Linked DNA regions of Homo sapiens: all the other regions are linked to region 1. The links are contacts of gene promoters, found by promoter capture Hi-C in blood cells and fetal thymus (Javierre and others, 2016). All regions are on one chromosome and are shown on one strand. Each heading gives the region's core, a stretch centred on a gene start or on the middle of the fragment in contact. The rest is flanking DNA. Distances are from core to core; before and after follow the strand shown. Region 1 holds the start of PIGK (phosphatidylinositol glycan anchor biosynthesis class K). Region 2 overlaps AK5 (adenylate kinase 5). Region 3 overlaps ZZZ3 (zinc finger ZZ-type containing 3). Region 4 overlaps AK5 (adenylate kinase 5).

Region 1 (3,035 bases), core at 160-2,659:
GCTTCTTATCTTTGCTACTTTGTTTCATAATCATCAGCATCCAATAGATATCTGTTGAATTAATGAATACATGGAAGATATTCTGGCAGTGTATTTACTTTCTAGGATTCACGTAACGGAAAACCTAAATTTGACTAAATAGCATGAAACCTCTCACAAAGTGCAATAGCAAAAGAAACAAATAAAAGGAAAAGAGAGACAAGAGAATGGGAAAAGCAATAGCATAAAATATGGCAAAGGCTAATGTTACTTATTTATAAATATATTATTCAAATTCATATGCAAAACATAAATATATAAACAAAGAATTTACATCAGAGGACACAGAGATAGTTTAGAAACACAAGAAAGACATCAGATCTTGATAGTAACCAAAGAATTATAAGTATAGTTACCTAGGGGTAACATTTCATACCAAAGAATTTAAAGGAAAAAAAATGGTATGGTTTGGTGTTGTGTATTCTGATAGTGCTGTAAGCTTGTTCATTTTGGAAAGCAACATCATTTATAGTTATTAAAATGTTTTGGAATATTTTGACCCCAAATTCCTAGTTCAGGAAAATTATACAAACAAAATAATTCAACAGATTTAAAAAGCCAAACACACAAAAGATACTCTTTACAATATTATTTTCATAGTAAAACTTAAAAACTTTGCATTGTGCAGCAGAGGGACAATTACTTTGGCTGAGGCATCAATAATGGATGGAATTTTATCTCACCATTAAATGTTAAAATTGTGAGGAAGCAGCGTGGAAACGTTTATGTCATACTAGATGAAATGCATAAATTAAAACTGAACTCACATAATAAAGAGAATGGTGGACCATACATATACACCAGCTGTGTCTCTTCCAGATAGGCTTTAGTTCCATAATTACAGAAGATACTCAAGAAACAAAAACGTAACTAGCTTCCCATGTTAATCCTTTCACCAGGTAGTAGACCCCAAGCCTCTAAATTGCAGCGCCCACCCACATTTTCCATTTATAGTTTATCCAATTAATCATCTTTTTGTGCCAAAACGCTTGTTCTTCCCACCACATCCAGCTTCATATTTTCAAAGAATTGGCAGCACTCGGCAAAATAAATAAATAAATAAATAAATAAATAAATAAAATAAATAAGGGAACAGAGAAATAAGTTTTTAAAGTTTAAGGAGTTACGGGTTTTCCCTCCACTCACCTTTCAATTTTTTTTCTTAAATGTTATACCTATTTTACAACCTCCAAACTGAAAATGCAGTTAAAAATAAAAAGGTCAATATCCTGCGTCTACCTTGTCCCGGACTCTCGAGCTCCACAAAACCGCAGAGTTCTAAAGCCGGACCAGAGGGCCACCTCGAAGAGGCGCGGATGGTGTCGCAAAAACCCGCAGCGCTACTTTACGGCACTGCCTCCGCCCCTTCAGGTGCGGGAAGTCTGAAGCCGGTAAACATGGCCGTCACCGACAGCCTCAGCCGGGCTGCGACTGTCTTGGCAACTGTGTTGCTCTTGTCCTTCGGCAGCGTGGCCGCTAGTCATATCGAGGTAGGAGTCAGGCTCATTTGACCACAGCCGGGAGGCCGGCTGTGAGCCCTCCAGCAGATGTCCGATACACAGTAGCTGAGGGACGCCTCCTGGAGTCAATCAGCCCCTGACCCAGGCTGGGTTTGAGGAGGGTATCACTGGGCACGGGTTAGGACACTGTTGGTCTGTTTCAGCGTTTTAAAACGATGAATTGAAATAATCAAACCCTCGGAGACAGAGGAGGACCTGATCCTTTGCTCCTACATGTGTGCAGTTCTTAGGTGAAATACGAGCAAGAGGCTCGTGAAATGTCAGTGTGCAGCAACTGCTTTCCTACTACTCAACTGCAGCCCTCTGTTTTGATAGGAGTCAGACGGAACTGGAGAGATGAGGGCAATTTTAAGAATCCAGATAATAGAATTTAGTGATAATTAGAACATGGGATAAATATAAGTGTTTATTAAAACTCTCAAGTTTCTGGCTTAGGGGCAACACGTCTGGGTTAAGAAATGGAAGAGAAAAGGGGTGCTTAGTTTTATCCTGGGCTCCTCCAGCTTCCCATTTTTAAACGTGGACACAGGATGTTCTGGTGCTCTATAATGCTTTTACTATTCACCATACTCTGATGATTCCTCAGTCCCGGTCTACAATCTAGATGTCTGGTATCTTTTTCAGGCCTGCATATCCAGCTGACTAAGAATCCGGGATAGTCAGGAGACATTTGAAAATCCGTGTGCAAAGTTTTATCTTCTGCTTATCCTACCTCCTCTTAAAAAGACACTGAAAAACTAAGCACCCCTTTTCTCCTCCATTTCTCAACCAGATGTGCTGCTCCTAAGCTAGAAACCTGAGAGTCTTAATCTCTTTATCCCATATTCTAATTATCACTAAATTTTGTGATCTGAGTTCTTAAAATTGCCCTCACCTCTCCAGTTCCACTGACTTAATTCAGGCTGTGATCACTTCTTGTCTAGACTCTTGCGATTACTTTATCTTGTTTTCCATAGGCCTCCATACTCCCTGAGTTTGGTGCTAGATTCGTCTACACGAAATGTAAGCCTGATCAGGTTATTCTTCTGATGAAATCTTTTAAATATTTATTAATTGCATACAGAATAAAGTCTAAACGTTATGACCTGGTGCTTGCCTACTTTTCCAGTGTTCCATATTGGAACCTCTTCTCCCCACCACCTGGGCACCTTGAGCTTAGACCAGTGGACTCCAAACTTTTTGAATACACACCCTATCAGTTAAAAAAAGATATTGAGCATGAACTTCATATATATTTATGAATTACTGTTAATTTATATATTTGATGTTTATATAGCATAATTTTTAGAGAACATAAATATGAGTAAATAGAAGTTCTGTTTCCCTCCTTTATTCTAACTTTGACTGCTTCATCTTGGATACTATTACTGTTTTTTGTAGTTACATAATTGCTGTGCTTTTTCACATTACAATATTTTATACATTGTGTTTCCTCTGTTCATGTGCTAAGATACAGTAAAGGCATAACCTCTGTAG
Region 2 (2,854 bases), core at 133-2,632, 290 kb before region 1:
CTGGGATTACAGGCACCCACCACCACACCTGGCTGTTTTTCGTATTTTTAGTAGAGACGGGGTTTTGCCACGTTGGCCAGGCTGGTCTCGAACTCCTGACCTCAGGTGATCCACCCACCTCAGCCTCCCAAAGTGCTGGTATTACAGGTGAGAGCCACCGTGCCCAGCCTGCCCCAAACTTCTTGAAGTTAAGAGTTCCAAGGGACTTGTTTTGGTCAATGAAATGTGGGCAGAGGTGGATGTGTACTGGTTTGGAGCAGAGGTTTTTACGCCCAGCACATGGTATGCCAGGTCTTTTCCCTTTGCCATGAGACTGGTAATGTTTCGGCTAATAAGGGCTCCATCAGCATGGTTACCAGAGTGAAGCTGGGGAGTTGTTTGGAAAAATTCCTGAATTAGCAGATCTGTACATCTCTGGGCTGAGGCTTGGGAACTTATAGTTTTAGAAAATTCCCCAGGGAAAGTGTACAGACATCTGCAATTTACTTGGAAGTGGACAGGAAAAAGAGATGTACTGATGGATGAATAGAGGGACAGATAAATAACAAGACAAGATATACAGGTTGGAGCACTCCTTATCTGAAATGCTTGGGATCAGAAGTGTTTTATATTTTAATTTTTTTTTATTTTGGGATACTTGCATTATACTTACTAGTTGAGCATCCCAAATCCTAAAATTCAAAATCCCAAATGCTCCAATGAGCAGTTCCTTTGAGCGTTACGTTGGCATGCAAAAAGATTAGGACTTTGGAACATTTTGGATTTTGGATTTTTGGAGTAGGGATACTCAGCTTGTAGTAAGATGTTGATTGAAGACTAGGTGGTGGGTATACAAGTGTTCACTGTAATATTCTTTCAGCTTGCTGTATGTTTGAAATATTTTCATAATAAAAAAGGATAATTCCCCAGGTGATTCTGATGGTTAGCCTGATTTGGAACTTCTAGATTAGATAATCTAAGGAAGGCAATTTGCTGTGAACTCTCCAATGTCACTGCAGGAAGTCTTTGTTGATTTTTCTTTTTATATTTACAACGTAATAATGCTAAGATAATGGTTCTATCATGAATGAATAATTATTATGATGGTTAATAAAAATCCTTATTGCCTTATCAAAATCAGGGCCATACCTCTCTCTTGCAGATGAGAGGAATTTTTGGTTTTCTCAGCATAAAGCTGGAGAGAATAGTAGGGGAACTGTGGCCTATTTCACACCAGTGGTATAGTTGAGAGACCAAATATGTTTGAGAAGTCATTGCAGACTACTCAGATAAAAGTCACAATACTTTTGGCTTGATATTTTATCTAATAAATATCTGTTTTATGTGTTCTACTTGTAATTATTTAATTCTTACAACAGCTATTTGAAACAGGTGCTGTTTGTAATCCTATAACAAGATGAAGAAACCATGCCAAGGGCCAACTGTGTCCTGGTACCATTAAACTCTACAGCCTCTCATATGTGGGGCACTTCTGGCCTGTCTTTCTGGAAATCAGACAGACCTCCTTTGGGAAATGCACTGCACAGCCTGCAGTTGACTGGAATGGTCACTGGGAGCTGGGCTTTCATCATGGCCCCGTCAGGTGGCCAGATAAAATACAGGACACCCAGTCAAATCCTGCATGAGACTTAGACTAAAGGCCATGTCACTGTTTATCTAAAATTCAAATCTAACTATGGCTCTTGTATTTTCATTTGTTAAATCTGGCAACCTTATCAGGCCCCATTATTTATTAACTATGTGGTTTTTTTTTTTGAGACTGAGTCTCAACCTCTTACCCAGGCTGGAGTGCAGTGGTGTGATCTTGGCTCACTGCAGCCTCTGCCTTCTGGCTTCAAGCGATTCTCCTGACTCAGCATCCAGAATAGCTGGGATTACAGGCTTGTGCCACCACGCCCAACTAATTTTTGTATTTTTAGTAGGGATGGGGTTTCGCCATCTTGGCCAGGCTGGTTTCGAACTCCTGGCCTCAAGTGATCTGCCCGCTTCAGCCTCCCAGAATGCTAGGATTACAGGTGTGAGCCACCGTGCCCGGCCCCATTAACAATGAATAGTAGACTTTAGGGATGTGATTTCATCTATGTTCTAACTAACACTCTATGATTTTACAATTCATTCAGCCAACACCCACCATAGCCACAGCGAGATGTGAAATCCCTCATTAATCAAGACTCTGAAACCAAATGCCATGACTCCAGCTCTTACATGGACAGAAAATGAGGAAGGTTCAGGTCTCAGGTGACAGGAAAGGGCAGATACCTTTCCTGGTGCCTGTTGGTGGTGGTTCTGAAATGTTTTTACCCCATGAAGCTGGTGACCTCCTACAGCTCACAGCACCCTAACCCCATCTTCACCCTACCCCCATCTCTGAACAGAGACACAGACAAGATTTCCAAACTGCTCATAAGAAAACACCATTAAATCACTTGTCCTTTCAGCTGAATATGAATCTACAGAAAAATTAAAAAATTAAAAAAACCCCAAAAAATGAAAAAAAACAACCAACCAACCAACCAACCAACCAACCAACCAACCAAACACCGATCCTTTGTTTCTTCACCCAGAGGTCTCCAGCGCCTGTTCCAGACCCAGCTCATCAAGCACATTTATTTTTCCAAATTGACAGACCAGAGCTGCTTTTCAAAAGTCACTTCACTCAGGTTCTGCTTGCCTGGGTTTCTGAATTCTTGGAATTCATTGTTCTAGAGTGCCCTGCCTCTTCCAGATTTTTAAACACACCATTTTTCCTACTTTGTAGCCTACTTTGTACTAGGTCTTAGGCATATATTAAGTGTATAGAATAGGAAATTACAAATTTACCTCCTCCTTTCTATTTTTCCTTCTATTTATTTAT
Region 3 (2,877 bases), core at 160-2,659, 360 kb before region 1:
CAGTGAAATTCATGATTCTTCATTATTTTCTTTGGAGTAATGTGAATGAGTGCTACTTGAAAGATTTTAGATTCAAAATATGTTAGAAAGGCCTTTGTGAGGGTAAAGTTTTTAGGATATTTGATTATTTAATAAATCAATCATTTAATAAATTTAATAGATCAATTTCTGTTTTGTAGATAATGCTACATAAATCCAAGAATAGAAAGGTTTATTATGATATTCTAAAGCCAGGCACAGTGGTGTGCACCTGTTGTCCCAGCTACTTGGGAGGCTGAGGCACGAGGAACACTTGAGGCCAGGAGTTTGAGTCCAACTTAGGCAACATAGTGAGGTCCCGTATCTTTAAAAAAATAAAATATTGTATTTAATCCTTTCTACAATTCTTGAAATATAAGTAGTCTTATCATCTTCACTTTACTGACATAATATTAATAGCTAGCTGTTATATTGAGGGCTCTGAGCCAGACTCTACTGTTCTATAACCTTTTATTTGGTAAGGAAACTGGGCCCTCAGGTATGTTGAGTGAATTATCTAGTTGCTTAGCTGCTAAGTCTGGGAACCACTGATTCTCTCCCATTCTGATGCCACACTTTTTCCACTTTTCTCTGTTGCTTTCTACAGTGGAGAAGCTACTGTTTCTTTCCCAAACAGGACACTACATTAAAATGTAGCCAGTTTCGGCCGGGCACGGTGGCTCACGCCTGTAATCCCAGCACTTTGGGAGGCCGAGGCGGGTGGATCACGAGGTCAGGAGTTCAAGACCAGCCTGGCCAATATGGTGAAACCCCGTCTCTACTAAGAATACAAAAATTAGCCGGGTGTGGTGGCACGCACCTGCAGTCCCAGCTGTTCGTTCTTGTAATCGCAAAAAATAAAGACACCTAATTGGCTGTTTTAAATTTTCTTAATAAGTTATCCTGTTACTTTTCCCTCCCCACCACTGACATCTTTCTCATAAAGAGAAGCTAAGAGTATATCTAGTGCTGTTATCCTTCCATACTGAAGCTATTTCATGTAATTTTACATTAAGAATATTGTCTATACAGTTTCATGTTTTACACATTAAAAAAAAATTTTTTTTAACCGAGCTTTGGAAGCTTGTTTTAATTTGCCAATTGTTTTAAATATTTTGGGTTTCCCACCAAATATAGCACAACCTGTGTAGATTTGTAGAGTTCATCCTATAACTGTGGAATATTGGAACCTTACATTAACCTGTGTTTAATGTAAGAGCTCTTATTTTCATGGTTAATTTCTAAGCTAATTTTATAGATGTAACCATGTTTTCATCATTAACACTGGATAATGATAACAAAAGGAATACTGGAGAACGTACATGTGTTTTTTTCCCTTAGGTGTACTGTATTTTGGCTGTGAAGATCTAGTACAGCTATATTTACAATGATTGCTTGCCATTGTTAGAGTTTAAATTTGGAAACAGGTGAAATGATGGTTCTTCATGTAGCTGAGGGTGTTCTTTGTGACTGTGCTATTGATCAAGACAGGCAGGCTGCATAGTGGTGGAAAGTGAGAATTTGGGCACCACATAGGCCTAGTTTATAATCCTGGTTCTACCACTATCTAGCTGCAACACACTGAACAAGAAACTTAACCTCCCTGTCCTCAGTTTTCTCATTTTTAAATTAGAGGTGATGATAACTACGTTATAGGAATGTTGTAAGGATTAAATGACATTGGCATAGAGCAAGCTTGTCCAACCCATGACCCACGTACCACATGTGGCCCACGACAGCTTTGAATGTGGCCCAACACAAATTGGTAAACTTTCTTAAAACATTACAAGAAATTTTTTTTTTGTTGTTTTTTTGTTTTTTTTTTTAGTGTGAGTGTATTTTATGTGTGGCCCAAGACAATTCTTCCAATGTAGCCCGGGGAAGCCAAAGATTGGACAACCCTGGCATAGAATAAGCAGTCAATCAATGTTAGATAAGTATTTTCAGATATTCATAATGTTATAGAAATTTTCCTTTTACTTTTTACTGGATAGTTTTATGTCTGGCATAGGCCACTTCATCCTGTCTGATCTTCTATAAGATGATCATAAGAATTCAGTGCAGCCAGCATTTGACTGCCAAGAGTATGATAAATGCTGGGGATACAAATATAAGCTAGATATTAAACATGTGGTCCATTTTACCGTTGTTGGGGTATTTCCCCTACATTTAAAAAAAATTTTTTAAAGCTAGTTATGCTTTAAAAACGCAGAAAACAGAAAAAGCAACAACATAAGAGTATGCTAAAGGATAGAGTGAAATTCTTCTGATAGACTTGTTGGAAGTAACATTTGTATTTTTATATTTTTGATTCTTGTAATGATTTTTCACTGAACCAATTAAAAATTTGTTTTCTTACTTAGTCTTCAACAAGCAGACGACAGCACCCTCTTAATAAGCATCTCTTTAAGCCTTCCACTTTCATGACTTCACATGAACCGCCAGTGTATATGGATGAAGATGATGACCGATCTTGTTTTCATAGCCACATGAACACTGCTGTTGAAGATGCATCAGTAAGTTATACACATCAAGTTGTTATATACATCAAGGTATAGAAGAGAGTAGGATTTTCTAATTATTTCCACTCTTCAGAGAATGTTGGTTTCTTTTAATGAACAAGTCAAATGTATAGTTTTTAAGTAATGTACTTTTGTGAGGAAAATTTCAAACATATACAAAAATAGAATAGTATAATGAACCTTAACAATTATCAACATGAAGCTACCTTATTTTAATCTCTACTCCCTACCCACCTCAACTCTGCTCTGGATTATTTTGGAGCAAGTCCCAGATATTACACAATATAATTATCATGTTTATAAAAGGTAATTTGTTATACAGTGAAATATATAGTCA
Region 4 (3,237 bases), core at 299-2,798, 270 kb before region 1:
CCCGTCTCTACGAAAAACACAAAAATTAGCCGGGCGCCATGGCAGGCGCCTGTAATCCCAGCTACTCGGGAGGCTGAGGCAGGAGAATCACTTGAAAACAGAAGGCGGAGGTTGCAGTGAGCCGAGATAGCACCACTGCACTCCAGCCTGGGAGAAAGAGCAAAACTCCATCTCAAAAAAAAAAAAAAAAAAAATTCAATTCATGTTTTTTTAATAATAAGGCAATAATGAAATGGCAACATGGCTATAATGAAATAGTGCCAGGCATTGCAATATTGAGTTTTAAGCAAAAATTCTTATTACTCCAGTTTTCCTTAGGAAAATAGATAGGACTATTTTTGTAGTGGTTAAAAATGCACAAATTAACATAAAATATTGCCAAAATACCTCCCAAAGTTCACTACTTAAAAACAGTTTATCACAGCATCAATGCCAATGTACACCAGGCCACGTGTGTCCCAGACACATTGAAAGCTATGGCCTTTGAATGATGTCTTGATCATTATGTTGTTAATACCATACCTCACCTGAAAAGTCAGATGTGTTTCCCAAATTGGAGCACTTCTACCCAAGCTTTGGATATAAATTAGTAGGAATTTAGATTATGTCACATTTTGGGCATAGGCAGGCAATGAAAAATGGAGAAGGGAAAAAGACGCCAGAATAAATGGGCTCATAGCAAAATAATGATCAAGAGATTTAAAAAAAAAAAAAAAGAAAAAAGGAAAGAAATGTACCAGAAAAGGTTGTGAAAAACTGTAGGAACCTGTTAGTGGGACATAATGAGGCCCTTTAAAGGCTATTTTTACATTTTCCAAATAATTTTCAGTTTTCAGAAGTGATTGAGCTCCTGTCTTGTATATCAGTGCAGGTTCTTATATCTTGTATGTGAACAACTGAAGTCCATAGAATCTTTTTCAATCCTTTGGATCATCTGGTCCTACCCTGTGGGAATCCCTTCTTTGTTTTTTGAAAAGTATTTCTTTATAAACAGCTACTGAGCTGCTTTCTTCGGGAACAAGAATATATAGTCACACATTATTCAAAGGGTGGACTGGGTCCGTCCTTGCCACCTTCCCCTTTGGTGCAGATGGTACACTTGCCCTGAACATTTTTTCCACTCAGATGACCATCAGGGCTATCACCTGCTCCCACCTGTGACTACTGCCCTGCAAATGAGCAAGAAACAGCACCAGCTCAGGGGAAAAGTTGCTTTTGCTTGCTCTCAGTGAGAGGGTAGCAGCTTCATGGAGAAAGGAGCATCTGATTAGGCTCCTAATTAACATGAAAACCATCCTGCAAGAAACAGCCACAGCAGCAACAAGCTGCTTGTCAGTTCTAGGCCAGGAATTCCAATTGCAATTTTGGTTGTTATGGAAACAGACCACACTGCTTCTTAAAGAATTCATTATTCCAACAAATATTTGTTGTTCTAGTCATTAAGTAGTACCCAAATGAATGATGTAGACACAAGGGAGGAGGAGCGCAGAGGAGGAAGGATGGTGATTACAGCGGAGTTCTCAGGGAGCTAGAACTTAACCCTGACCTTGGGGCATGATTAATAGGGGAGAAGACATTTCAAGTGAAAGGGCTGGCAAAGTGCGACAAGCTCAAGCGATAATAAGGATGCAGGTGTGGCTGGAGCCAAAGATTGACATGGGAGTGTGGCGGGAAATGGGAAAGACCAGAAGGCCAGTCTAAGAAGTCTGGACCTTTCTGTGGACAAAAAGGATCTAATGGATATGTTAAAACAGGGGAAGAATGCTTTAGGCATATTAATTTTGTCTTAAGGCGAATAGTGAGGATGTCAACCTAGACTCTGGCTAATACTGCAGCCCCAATGTTTTTCGGGTATATGCCAAGACAATAATTTGAAAAGTGACAATCCAGTCATCTTCTCAAATAGACAAAACCACTCTGTTTCACTGAAAGTGAACTCATCAAAACAGCTATGGGTGTGTCTATGACATCTGGAATATTTTCATAAGGTTAAATTGACTTACAATAAAGCAGTCCCAAAATACCATTCTGCCACCTGTCAAGGACATATTTAGAACTAAGGCCTTAATTCTCAGAGTTCAGTATGTACAGTAGAAGAAGAGCAGTCGTTTTCCCTTGTATCACAGTGGCTTTGTACCTTCTATGGCCCAAACAGCAAGCTGAAATCTCTTTTACTAGAAGAGTGACTGATCAGTAAATTGAAATACAGGAGAGTTTTGTTAGATAGAAGAAAAATCTTTTGCTCAGTGCAGCAATTCTTAGAGGGTGGTCTGTGGACCCTTGGAGGTTTCGAGCTTTGTCTAATTCCAAAGATCTTCTACTGTGCTGTTTGACCTTTTGAAGGGCACAGGACTTAGTAACAGGTGAGGTCTTTAGTTATGCCTAGAGAGAAGGAAGTGGCATTTGACAACGCATTTCACAGTTCAACTGTGAGTGTTAAACAATGGATAAATCTGAAGTAATATTACTGCCAAGACAGTAACAACCACCACAAAACATACTGTATTATTTTTGGAAGCTTCTTTGGACCACATTATTAAAAACACAGATTTCTATGTGATAATAAAGGGCTCTGTGATGGTTAATACTGAGTGGACTTGATTGGATTGAAGGATACAAAGTATTGATCCTGGGTGTGTCTGTGAGGCTGTTGCCAAAAGGGATTAACATTTGAGTCAGTGGTCTGAGGAAGGCAGATCCACTCTTAATCTGGTGGGCACAATCTAATCAGCTGCCAGCAAATATAAAGCAGGCAGAAACATGTGAAAAGGAGAGACTGGCCTACCCTCTCAGCCTGCATGTTTCCCCCATGCTGGATGCTTCCTACCCTCAAACTCCAAGTTCTTCAGTTTTGCGACTCGGACTGGCTCTCCTTGCTCCTGAGCTTGCAGACAGCCTGTTGTGGGACCTTGTGATCACGTAAGTTAATACTTAATAAATTCCTATATGTATATATGTATTCTATTAGTTCTGTCCCTCTAGAGAACGCTGACTAATACAGGCTCCTACTGTGAATTCCTAGCTGTCAAGTTTAAAGGGTCTCCCCTTTTCCTAACTTGGCTCCTAATATAAAGATTGAATAGAAAATATAAGACTCTGTATGGTCTGGATGCCAGGAAAATTGATTATTAAAACTTATGTGGAAAAGGGAATTTTAGTAATCTATAGCACAACTAATTTTCCTTTGCAATTATGACATTGGGTTACTCTTCAATAAGAGATATAAGCAATATATAG

What was found. The method cuts DNA at HindIII sites, captures the fragments that hold promoters and counts their contacts. A CHiCAGO score of 5 or more calls a contact.
Region 2: a contact is called between a fragment that was not itself captured here and the fragment with the promoter of PIGK in region 1, in 2 of 17 cell types (non-activated CD4 T cells and monocytes). The highest score is 6.5, in non-activated CD4 T cells.
Region 3: a contact is called between a fragment that was not itself captured here and the fragment with the promoter of PIGK in region 1, in 1 of 17 cell types (naive CD4 T cells). The highest score is 5.0, in naive CD4 T cells.
Region 4: a contact is called between a fragment that was not itself captured here and the fragment with the promoter of PIGK in region 1, in 1 of 17 cell types (naive CD4 T cells). The highest score is 6.5, in naive CD4 T cells.

The regions. Positions count from the first base shown.
Region 1 is chr1:77,217,804-77,220,838 of GRCh38, reverse strand. It overlaps PIGK (phosphatidylinositol glycan anchor biosynthesis class K), which reads left to right and starts at 1,409. Exons shown (of 11, transcript NM_005482.3): 1 at 1,409-1,529. The coding sequence starts at 1,437. LOC105378808 (a long non-coding RNA gene) reads right to left here and starts at 1,319. Exons shown (of 3, transcript XR_001738109.2): 1 at 1,186-1,319; 2 at 1-51. RefSeq lists an enhancer at 1,616-1,725. The HindIII fragment of the contact is 2,966 bases long and covers 481-3,035 here.
Region 2 is chr1:77,505,900-77,508,753 of GRCh38, reverse strand. All of the region lies in intron 10 of AK5 (adenylate kinase 5), which reads right to left. Among named protein-coding and RNA genes, the nearest start is that of ZZZ3, 180 kb to the left of the region's middle. The HindIII fragment of the contact is 4,094 bases long and covers 1-2,854 here.
Region 3 is chr1:77,575,725-77,578,601 of GRCh38, reverse strand. ZZZ3 (zinc finger ZZ-type containing 3) reads left to right here. Exons shown (of 15, transcript NM_015534.6): 12 at 2,382-2,534. Among named protein-coding and RNA genes, the nearest start is that of ZZZ3, 110 kb to the left of the region's middle. The HindIII fragment of the contact is 612 bases long and covers 1,104-1,715 here.
Region 4 is chr1:77,488,262-77,491,498 of GRCh38, reverse strand. The region is part of intron 10 of AK5 (adenylate kinase 5); the gene reads right to left. Among named protein-coding and RNA genes, the nearest start is that of ZZZ3, 190 kb to the left of the region's middle. The HindIII fragment of the contact is 1,945 bases long and covers 576-2,520 here.